Regions from separate parts of the Homo sapiens genome. Here region 1 is linked to region 2. The links are contacts of gene promoters, found by promoter capture Hi-C in blood cells and fetal thymus (Javierre and others, 2016). All regions are on one chromosome and are shown on one strand. Each heading gives the region's core, a stretch centred on a gene start or on the middle of the fragment in contact. The rest is flanking DNA. Distances are from core to core; before and after follow the strand shown. Region 1 has its middle 39 kb from the start of SCRT2. Region 2 holds the start of CSNK2A1 (casein kinase 2 alpha 1).

What was found. Contacts are between HindIII fragments. The CHiCAGO score rates a contact against its expected background, and 5 or more counts as called.
Region 1: a contact is called between a fragment that was not itself captured here and the fragment with the promoter of CSNK2A1 in region 2, in 2 of 17 cell types (megakaryocytes and M2 macrophages). The highest score is 6.2, in megakaryocytes.

Annotation. Positions count from the first base shown.
Region 1 is chr20:712,362-718,043 of GRCh38, forward strand. No RefSeq gene overlaps it. Among named protein-coding and RNA genes, the nearest start is that of SCRT2, 39 kb to the left of the region's middle. The HindIII fragment of the contact is 3,874 bases long and covers 2,064-5,682 here.
Region 2 is chr20:541,567-547,147 of GRCh38, forward strand. CSNK2A1 (casein kinase 2 alpha 1) reads right to left here and starts at 2,224. Exons shown (of 14, transcript NM_177559.3): 1 at 2,106-2,224. RefSeq lists enhancers at 544-1,237, 1,931-2,624, 2,110-2,259, 2,280-2,359, 2,470-2,519 and 1 more and a silencer at 1,730-1,789. The HindIII fragment of the contact is 12,556 bases long and covers 1,472-5,581 here.

The sequences.
Region 1 (5,682 bases), core at 2,751-5,250, 170 kb after region 2:
GTAGCAATTAACATCCTTTTGACCTTGGTTTTATTTAACAGTTTTTTTTTTTGAGAATTTTCTAAGCGCCAGACACCATTCTAGACATTATACAAATAAATAGATAAAAATGAATAAATAAATAAATGTTATTTTAGAAGGTGCAATTGAAATTGAGAGTCAAGGCAGGACTCACTAAGAAAGTGACAATATTTTCTTTCTGCTTTCAGTTATGGAGATTTGAAATCTCAGTTGATAAGGTGGATTTATTTCTCCTTGCAGGTCATTCACTTTTTCCTTCATGTATTTTGAATCTCTGCTATTGGGGGCATAAATATTTAGAATTGTTATATGCTCATGATTAACTGACCTTTTTTTTTTTTTTTTAGATGGAGAGTCTTGCTCTGTCGCCCAGGCTGGAGTGCAGTGGCGCAATCTCGACTCACTGCAACCTCCGCCTCCTGGGCTCAAGAGATTCTCTGGCCTCAGCCTCCTGAGTAGCTGGGATTACGGGTGTGCACCACCACGCCCAGTTAATATTTGTATTTTTAGTAGAGATGGGGTTTCACCATGTTGGTCAGGCTGGTCTCAAACTCCTGACCTTGTGATCCACCTGCCTTGGCTTCCCAAAGTGCTGGGATTACAGGCGTGAGCCACCGCACCCAGCCTTGACCTTTTTAATCATTATAAAATGACCTTATCTTTCCTGGTAATATTCTTTGCTCTGAAACAAACATTGTCTGATATGAAACTAGCTACTCCTCCAGTGTTATTTTGATTACTGTTACTTTCCATCTTTGTACTTTTAACTTGTGTGTTTACACTTAAGGTGTGCCGTTTTGAAGGTTGGGTCTTATTTTTTTTTTTTAAAAAAAACAATATTTGGGTCTTATTTTTTTAAAAAAATCCAATCTAACAATCTCTGCTTTTTAATTGAGGGTATTTAGACCATTTACATTTGATGTGATCATTGACGTGGTTAGATTTAAGTCTATCATCTTGCTATTTGTTTTATTTTTGTCCCATCTGTTCTTTGCTTCCTTTTTCTTCTTTTTCTGTCTTCTTTTGTATAAGCTCAGTTTTTTTTACTATTTCATTTTAACTCCTCCTTTTTTATTATATCGTTTTACCTTCTCTGTTGGTTTATTAACTGTAATGTTTTGTTTGTTATCTTAGTAGTTACATTAGGCCTTATAAGCCTGGGTACGGTGGCTCACACCTGTAATCCCAGCACTTTGGGAGGCTGAGGTGGGCGGATCACCTGAGGTCAGGAGTTTGAGACCAGCTTGCCAATATAGTGAACCCCTGTCTCTACTAAAAATACAAAAATTAGCCAGGCATGGTGGTGCATGCTTACAGTCCCAGCTACTCGGGAGGCTGAGGCAGGAGAATTGCTTGAACCTGGGAGGCAGAGGTTGCAGTGAGCTGAGATAGCACTACTACACTCCAGCCTGGGTGACAGAGCAAGACTCAAAAAGAAAATCATGTAATAGTATACTTTCATTTCCTTCCTGGCCTTCTTGCTGTTGTTGTCATACATACATATGTGTGACAGACTCCACAAAATGTTATTATTTTTGTTTAAATGCTAAGTTATCTTTTTTTAAATTAAATAATCAGAAAAGATTTTATATATTTAACTCATGTAGTTAACACTTCTGGTGACCTCCATTCCCTTATGTAGATCCAGATTTCCATCTGGTATCATTTTCCTTCTGCCTGAAGGATTTCCTTTATCACTTCTTGCAGTGCAGATCTGTTGGTGACAAATGCATTCAGCTTTTGTATGTCTGAAATCATCTTTATTTCATCTTCATTTTTAAAAGATATTTTAACTGGGTATAGAATTCTAGATCGGCAGGTTTTTTCTTTCATTAGCTTAAAAGATGTTGTTGCTTCACTATTTTCTTCCTTAAATTGTGTCCAACAAGAAATCTGCCATTATCCTTATCTTTGTTTCTCTATACTTTACAAGGCTTTTCTTTCTCTGACTGTTTTTAATATTTATCTGTTTGTCACTGGTTTTGAGCAATTCGTTCATGGTGGGTAATTTCCTTCCTGTTTCTTGTGCTTGAGGTTCGTTAAGCTTCTTGGATCTGTGAGTTTATAGTTTATATCAGATATGAAATATTCTCAGCCATTAATTTTCTATTTCCTCTCCTTTGGGGACTTCAAAGACACATATATTAGGCTTCTTGAAGTTGTTCCATAGCTCCTAATACTCTTGGTTTTTTGGATTCTTTCTTTTTCTCTGAGTCGTCGATTTTGGGTAGTTTCTATTGCTACATCTTAAAATTCTCTAATCTTTTCTTCTGTCACATCAGCATATTTTTCATTTCAGACATGTAGTTATCATTTCTAGAAGTTCAGTTTGGGTCATTTTATATCTTCCAAGTCTCTCCTTAACCTTTGAACATGCAGACCATGAAATACAATTTGAATACTTATTTTAATGCTCTTATCTCCTACTTCTGTATCAGTTCTGGGTCAGTTTCAATTGATTGATTATTATTCTTGTATGGGCCATGTTTTCTTGCTTATTTACGTGCATGGTAAACTTTGGATGCCAGGCATTGTGAACATTACCCTTGTTGGGTGCTGTACACTTTTATATTTCTATAAATCTCCTTCAGTTTTGCTCTAAGATGCAATTAAGTTACTTGGAAACAGTTTTATCCTTCCTAGTCTTGCTTTTATAATTTGTTGAGTGGGTCCAGAGCAGTGCTATCTGTTGAGGGCTAATTATATACCACTGTTGAGAAAAGACCTTCCTGAGCACTCTACCCAGTACCCCAGAAATTATGAGGGTTTTTTCTGTTTATTAATATTTCTGGTTTTGTGTGAGTGCTGAGCACTGTTCTCTAATCTTATCAGATGATTTTCACCCCTACTTCAGTGTAGTTTTATCATACAAAAGCACCAACCAGTACTCAGTCTAATACTCAAGGGGGACTTTCTTCATATCTCTGGAATAGTCTCTCTGTGCAACTCTTTCCTCCCAATACTGTGTCCTGCAAACTCTGCCCTCTTTGTCCTTCCTGGACTCTCAACTCTATTTCCTTAACTCAGGAAGCCTCCTGGGTGCTGCCTGGGTTCCTCCTCCCTGCACTAGGTTCTGAAAACTCTCTCCAAGCGGCAAACTGAGGCCATGATAGGGTTCATCTTATTTCCCACTTCTCAGGGATCATGATCCTTTATTGCCTGTTGCCTAGAGTCTTAAAAATTACAGTTTCATGTATTTTGCCTGGTTTGGTTTGTTTGTTTGATTGTTTCAAGCAGGAGAGTAAATTCAGTTTCTGATACTCCATCTTGGGTGGAAGCAGATATGAGAAGGTGACATTTGAACACAAACTTGAAGGAGTTGATGGAGTGAACCAAGAGGATATGGGAGTGGGGAGAGGAAGGAGATTCTAGGCAGTGTGAACAGCAAGTACAATGGTCTCCTGCGTGTATAGCTGAGAGTGCGGGTAGTGTGTTTGAGGAAGGAAGGGAGCACGTATGGCTGGAGCAGAGAGTTATGTGGGGAAAGTGGGGAGAGGGAGGGATGAGGTGTCAGCTTGTGTAGGACCTTGCAGGCCATGGAGAGGATTTTGGCTTTTACACCAAATGAAATGGGAGCCATGGGAGGATTTTGAGCAGAGGGAGGACATCTTTTACAGGATCTCTGAATCGATTGGATTAACTGAAAGGGATAAGAGGGCAAGAGAGAAAGCCAGAGACTTGCTGGGAACCAGTGCACTAAGCCAGGTGAATGCTAGTGACTCAGACACATGAAAGGACACACTACCAAGGGGGTGAATAACTAGGAGCGGGGATGAAGGAGGCTTCTGGGGTGCTGTCGGTGTCTTGTATCTTGATCTGAGGGAGGTTACATCATCTGCTCACTGTGTGAAGATTCATTGAGCTGGATGTACACGTCTAAATTGTGTTCACAATTGAATTGAATACATGAATATATTACTATATAAATATACTATATACATATAAAACTTAGAAAACAAAGTAGGGAGATGAAGGTGGCTTGGACTAGACTGTTATCAGTGGAGGTGGGAAGAACTGTATGCATTCTAGATCTCTTTTATATGTAGATCCAATAAGATTTGCAAACAGATCTAATGTTAGATGTGAAGACAGAGAATAGTCCAGGATAATGTCAAGTTCTCTGGCTGAGCTACAGCAAAGACTGAGGACCTGCTGTGTACCAGAGCTTGGGCTAAGCTCTATTAACTTCTTTAATCTTCATGACAATTCTAGGAAGTAAGTCTGGCAAGAGCTGCTTCTGAGGTTTTTGTGGGGCTACTGGGAGCCTTTCCACCAGAAGTGTAGTTTGTGTGATGGATTCCAGAGGTAGTGGTGGCCACCTTTGCCTCCATGAGGTTACAGGCTGCCTGAGAGTGAGGCCTACAAGAAAGAAATCAAAGCCATGATAGAGAGAGAGACAGGATCCTCACAGTAACATGTCAGCACCTGGATTCAGCCATAACAGAAGCCAGTGCCCTGGGCTTCTCAGTTATATAAATTAATAATTACTTTTTTTTTTATTTCTTTCACTTCTAACTGAAGAGTCCAGACTGATACAACTTCTTCATATGTGTCCCCTGTCTGCACCATCCAATGGACCATCAACAGCAGCTACATCCTCTCCTTACCGTTGCTTGCTTGCTTTTTTTGAGACAAGGTCTCTTTCTGTTGATCAGACTGGAGTGCAGTGGCATAATCACAGCTCACTGCAGCCTTGACCTCTTGGGCTCAAGCAGTCCTTCTGCCTCAGCCTCCTAAGTAGCTGGGTCTATAGGTGCTTGCCATCATGCCCAGCTATTTTTTTTTTTTTCATAGAGACAGGGTCTCACTATGCTGTCTAGGCTGGTCTTGAACTCCTGGACTCAAGAAATCTTCCTGCCTTGGCCTCCCAAAGTAGTGGGATTACAGGCGTGAGCCACCGTGTTTGGCCGTCCTTACCATTTCTAATGCCTGCTCTGCACTTTCTCTCTCTGGACCTTTGCTCCTACAGGTCCTCCTTTCCAGAATGCCTTTCCTCCCTTACCTTCTGCCCTCACATCAAAACCAGCCCCCTACTCAAAGCCATCCTAACTCCACCAGCTGAAGGATGGAGCTGGCAGAGTGCTTAGATATCAATCCATTTTACAGATGGGAATACCAAGGTCACTGTGAGACAGGGCAGATTTGTGGTCAGGACTCCCGCGTTCTGACTCTCTGAGACTCTTTCCATGATCCTCCAGGACAGCCTTTTCTGTGCCCTCCCTTGCGTGGGGTTGAACAGTACTTTTCACAACAATTTACACTCTCCCATACCCCAACCCTTGCACGTGCTGTTTCCTCAGTCTGGGATGCCCTATTCCATTCTGTCCTTCCGGAAAGGGTGCCACTTGAACTTGGAGATTCAACTCAAGGATCAGACTTCCAGAAGCCTTCTCTTTTTCCCAGGGTGGCTCTGTGTCCTGCCTGGTACTCCCACAGCTGCCTCTGGTACCTCCATGAACCCATTTATCCATTTGTTTTTTAGGTGTCTGTTTCTTGTTTGCCTCACCTGTTAGGTAGGGGAACTGAGGCAGACCTCCTGGCCAAAGAAGGCTCCCAACTGATGTTTGTGAATCAACATAGAGTGAGAAAGAGCCCCGTGGAGTGGGGCGGGGGGTGGAGAGCCAGCGCTGGGCGTGGAGGCAGGACGCCTGGGCTCCAGTC
Region 2 (5,581 bases), core at 974-3,473:
GGACTCACTCTGGATGAGTGAGTAGGAAAAGGACGCGCAGTATGGAAAAGGAGTTGCCACCTGTTTCATCCTCAAATTGCAAGGCACTTCACCCATAACTACTTAGAAACTAACCCATGCTCCTCCTTAAATGTGTATTTCTCTTCTCTGTATTCCACAAAGGAGTACATAACTAGGCTTTTTTTTATTTTTAAAGAAAAGTCACCTCACGGGGACCTAACTGTATAATCAGTTGATTAATCAATCTAAGCAAATTTCCAATCTTGCATTCTTTCTTCAAGTCATACACCCTCCCGCAATAGCAAACCAAAGCCAAGTATTTCAAAGTCACAGAAGGACAAAAACATGCCCTGCTAAGACTGCAGGTGAACTTTTGAGAATACCACGGAGGAGAACTAGTATTGGTACTGGACTTTCAGCCCCAGGTCCACCAAGCCAGTAAAGCCAAATGACTTACAACAAAACCCTACAACAACTACAAAGATACTACTCTAAAGCCCTGTCTACAGTCAAATTCTTGACTATAAATTTTACTTAGAACAGAAGAGCCCCAAATATACCAGCTAGTCCCTTTACAGTGACAGGTAAAAGCTACTTACTACACTTACTACCTGCCAGACACTGTAGTAAGCACTTGACACAAATTGTCTTATTTACTCTTCTCCGTAAACTCACAAGCTAGAAAATACCATCATCCCCCTTTTACAGACGGGAAAACTGAGGCTTAGAGAGTTTAGGTCACACAGCTAAGTAGCAATGGCCCTGATATTTGAGAACCTAGGCAGTCTGGTTTTTAACCACTGGGCCTACACTGCACTCCTCAGATGGAATGAAGTCTCCAATTCTTGGAAAAATCTTCCCTTCTTAGTTTTCTTTTTTCTTTTTGAGGCGGAGTCTCGCTCTGTCGCCCAGGCTGGAGTGCAGTGGCGGATCTCAGCTCACTGCCACCTCCGCCTCCCAGGTTCAAGCGATTCTCCTGCCTTAGCCTCCCGAGTAGCTGGGATTACAGGCGCGCGCCACCAAGCCCGGCTGATATTTGCATTTTTAGTACAGACGGGGTTTCACCGTGTTGGTCAGGCTGGTCTCGAACTCCTGACCTCGTGATCCACCCGCCTCGGCCTCCCAGAGTGCTGGGATTACAGGCGTGAGCCACACGCCCGGCCTCTCTTCTTAGTTTTCATTTCCTCTCCCCATGTCCCATTCTCGTAGAATTAAACAGCTGAAAAGTAATCAAGTCTTCCCAAATAATTTGCCACCTTCTTTTCAAAACTCTTTCCTCCACACAAAGCAATAGCCAAGATGCAACTTCTCCTGACCCTGACTCTGCTTCCCCAAAACAAACTACAGAAGCTCCACCCATCACCTGCTTAATCTAGCAATGTTCCAACACTGCAAAAAACACACAACGAAAAACAAAATTGAAAAGTCCTACTCTTTCAAAAGGTCACCAACATATGTATACCCTTAGCCAAGCTTTCTCTCCATACCTCTTTTTCTATCCAGGCTCCTAACTAGTCCTTAACTCCAACTCCAGACGTTCTGCCCCACGTCTTGGTCCCTTCCCCCTTTCGCCCCAGCAACCCCGCCTGGGGTTCTCTCCACCTCGCACCCACTCTGCAGGTGGGAAGCTCAGCCCCGCCCAGAGGGACCCTAAGAAGGCCCCTACTCCAGCTGCCCAGTTTCGCGGGAGGGTTCACTGCACACTACCCAGCAGGCACCACTCCCTCCGCACCCTCCCCCAGCACCCCCCTGCGGCCCCACCCCTCAAGTTCCCTTCCCCCTCTGACGACCCCCTCCTCCAAGTTGTCCCCTAGTCCCCACCCAGTTCAGTCCTCTCCTCTGCAATAAGCTGGACTCCGGCAGCCGGTTCCCACCCTCACATCGGCCTCTGCCCCCAAACCTCGCCCTCCGCCCTGAGGGGTGGCCCCTGGGCCTCCCCGATGGGCTGCAGGGGCCTCGCTTGGTTTATGTGTGAAGGTGGGGGCAGGGGAAGGCGACGGGCCGCTCAGGAGTCTGCTGGAAGCGTGAGGGTCGGCCGCGCTCCGCTGCCCTATCCTGGGCCCACCCCACCCGCCAACGACCTCGCCTGGCTGCTCCCTAGGTACCTGTGGTGGAAGCGGCAGCGGCGGCGGCCGCTCTCCCCTCTGCTCACACAGACAATATGGCGGCGATGGAGGAGGAGACACACGGCTCGGCCGCCAGCCGCAGGGACCAGAGCGAGGCTGCAGCCGCTGCTGCCGGAAGCGGAAACCCCCTCCTACCAGGAGGCGGGGCGAGACAGCTTCCGACTCCGCCCCCAGAGGAATCTCTCTGAATGCGGCCATGCTGGGATGTCCTATTGTAACCTTAGGGATTCAGTTCTGGCCTAGGGTGCAAAATGGAAGGAATCCCCAACGCAAAGCAGAATAAGGAGACTTGCAATAGTTAAGCGCATTTTATTTCAATAGTGTTAACAAGTGACAACAGAGAGAACACGAACCTCCCATTAGGTGAACAGTTGGTTTGACCCAAGTTAAGATGGCGGTACCCAGGTTTCCCACACTTCACCCAGCTGGCCCCCCTTTCTTGAAAAGAACCATGCGCGACCTGCAGAGCTGTAGAGCCAAGCATTCTGGGAGCTGAAGTCTCTTTTGCTCTGACCCCTCGTTTTAAATTAGGGTTTCAGCAACACTTTCTATTCAAACTTGGAGTTCGGAAGAAGTGAATGAAAGTTGGACCCTAGGAAGGGCATGGCGCAGGAGTCTGAGAAGTGAGGATACTAGCTCTCAAGAGACCAAGGCCCAATTCCTTCCTCCTACAGGAGTCCTGCCAAGAGCTGTGCGTCCAAAATACAGTGTTTTTTTTTCCTTCTATCTGCCTCCCACCCCTGCTCTCCTTGCCCGAGCTACCTCCCCAAAACAGCCACAAAGCACTTTCTACCATGCAGAGCTCATCATGGTCTCCCTATGGTCAAAAATCTCCCATGGACCTCTTTATGCACCAAAGATAGCCCAAACTCTTCACTTGACATTCAGAGTCCTCCATAATTTGGCCAAACCCTCCTTTCCAGCCTCCTATTCTGCCACTCTCTTCTCAAATTCCGGAAGATTCCACCCACAAGACTGCAAACAATTCCTGGAACTTAGCTGTGTTGCCTCCCTCCCTTTACACTGGCAGTTACTTCTCTTACTGTCACCTCATGGACTGGATAATTTCTGTATGCCGATTGAACTAATTCAGGGATCCTTTCCTCTAGGGGTCTCCTCTCTGTTTAACTCCCTCCAACCCAGACACTATCAGTCAGTAACCTGAGGACCTCAGTCTGTCTCCTCCATCAGACTGGGAGCCCCCAGTGGACAGGGCTCCATCTGATGATCAACCTCTCCTTTGCAGGCCCTGATAAAAGCTGAAGCGTCTAAGAGTTGCTGAAAGGAGTTCAAGTATTAGTCTCACCTCTGGTGGGACAGAGGTGTGAGCACTGGAACGAGGGTGAGGAGGCCAGGTTCTTTCAGTACCAACCATTATCCCTAACTGTCTCAGAATAGCTGGTTGTCTCAGGAATGGGCCTCTCCACCCTCCACAGCCCTGCCTTCACAGTTTGTCAGCTGACTAGCACCTCTGCTCCCAAAGAGGCACCTCTTCCCCATGTGGGGTTAGGGCTGGTGGTGGCTGCAGACTTATAGTGATGGCCTCAGGGAGGTGGCTGTGGCCTTCTCTGGACCTCATCTGCTAGACAGCTTGTGACATCTGATCCCAATTGCCTGGGAACCCACAACAGTTTTTCTCTCAGTGTCCTGTAACTGGGCCTCAATTTCCCCACTTGTGGACTGAGGAGGTTATACAAGATAATCCCAAAGTTTCTGGGAAGCCATCTTCCAGGAAATGATACCCTTCTACCTACCTCTCGAACGTATCTTTTTGGCTCTTGTGGCTTTGTTTTTCCCAACTGTATTCACATTTGTTTAACTCACAACAATTCATCATTTGCTATGAGCCAGACACTGTGCTAGGTACTGGGGATGTGTTATGAGGAAGACATACACCAGTTGCTCACTGGTGGAGCTTACCTTCTAAAGTGAGAAGCAAGTAATGCACAGGTAAACAAATGCATAAACAAAGTAATTTCAGGTAGCAATAAGTGCTACGAAAGGAAAAGATAAGTAGCTGTGAAGTATAGAGCTTTAGCTTGAGTGGTTCAGAAGGTCCCTTTGAGAAGGAAACAGTAAGTGCAAACGTCCCAAGGCAGGAAAGAGCATCACAAGTTTGAAGAAGGAGGCCATGGTGGCTGAAGCACTGCAAATAAAGGGAAGAAGAGGAAGAAATATGGTGGGAGAGGTGGGCAGGGCATTCAGGTCATGATAAGGAAGCTGGGTTTTCATCTGAGTGTAGTGAGGATATTTCCCATTGCTTAGCCTTCATGCCTTTCCAATCTCAGCCTCTCTCACAGCATTAGTTCTTCATTCTTCTTCCTAGTTCTGGCCTCTATCCATGACTTCATTCAGAGGGCTCACCTGGGCACACATATACAACCCTCATACTCATGCAGGACATAATTGAAACCCAACTCCTGCCGTCTACTACGCCAGCCTCATGTAGGTCTCCGGTCTCAAGAGGCTTCCCATCCCAAGTGTTCACCTAGTTGTAGACTTAACATTTATCCTTAACTCTTACTGTCTCTGATCCCCCACATCACACCTCTCAGGCTAGTCTTTCTGCAAACAACAGCAGCAGAAGCAAGAGTTAAGATGTTGAGAGTACTTGCACTGTGCCACACACTGAATGTTCATCATCTCACTTAATCCTCATGTCAACCTGATGAGGTAGAAACCAAAAGTATCTCACCGTACAGATGAGGAGACTCAGGTTCACAGAGATCACAGGCCATGCCCAAGGTCACATGCCGGAGATGGAGCTTGCATTTCAACCTGGGCCATTAGAGTGACTCTCTCTCTCTCTCTCTCTTTTGAGACAGGATCTTGCTCTGTTGTCCAGGCTGGAGTGCAGTGGCATGATCACAGCTCATTATAACCTTGAACTCCTGTGCTTAAGCGATCCTCCCACCTTAGCCTCCTGAGTAGCTAGGACTACAGACATGCACCACCATGCCTGGCTCATTTTTAATTTAGTAGTATTATTATTACTATTATTATTATTGTACAGATGGGGTCTTGCTATGTTGCCAGGGCTGGTCTTGAACTCCTAGGCTCAAGCAGTTCCCCTGCCTTGGCCTCCCAAAGTGCTAGAATTACAGGCAAAAGTTTTAATCATGCACTAAGAACCTAAGTGTATTTGCTTTCTATTGCTGCTTAACAAAATCACCCCACAATATAGTGGCTTAAAACAACAATATTTTATGTTTGTGTGGATTGGCAGTTTGGACATGTCTCAGCCAGGACAGCTCTTTTCTGCTCCAAGTGGTCTTTCCTGGCTTACTCTTACGTTTGCTGTCAGTGAACAGGCCAGCAAACTGGTTAGAACTCCATGGCCTCATTCACATGTCTGGCAGTTGGTTGGGGTTGTTGGCTTGAGTGCCTTGGTTCTCCTCCATGTTGCTTCTTCAGTAAGCTAACTCAGGCTTACTTACATGACGGCCCCCAGAAGA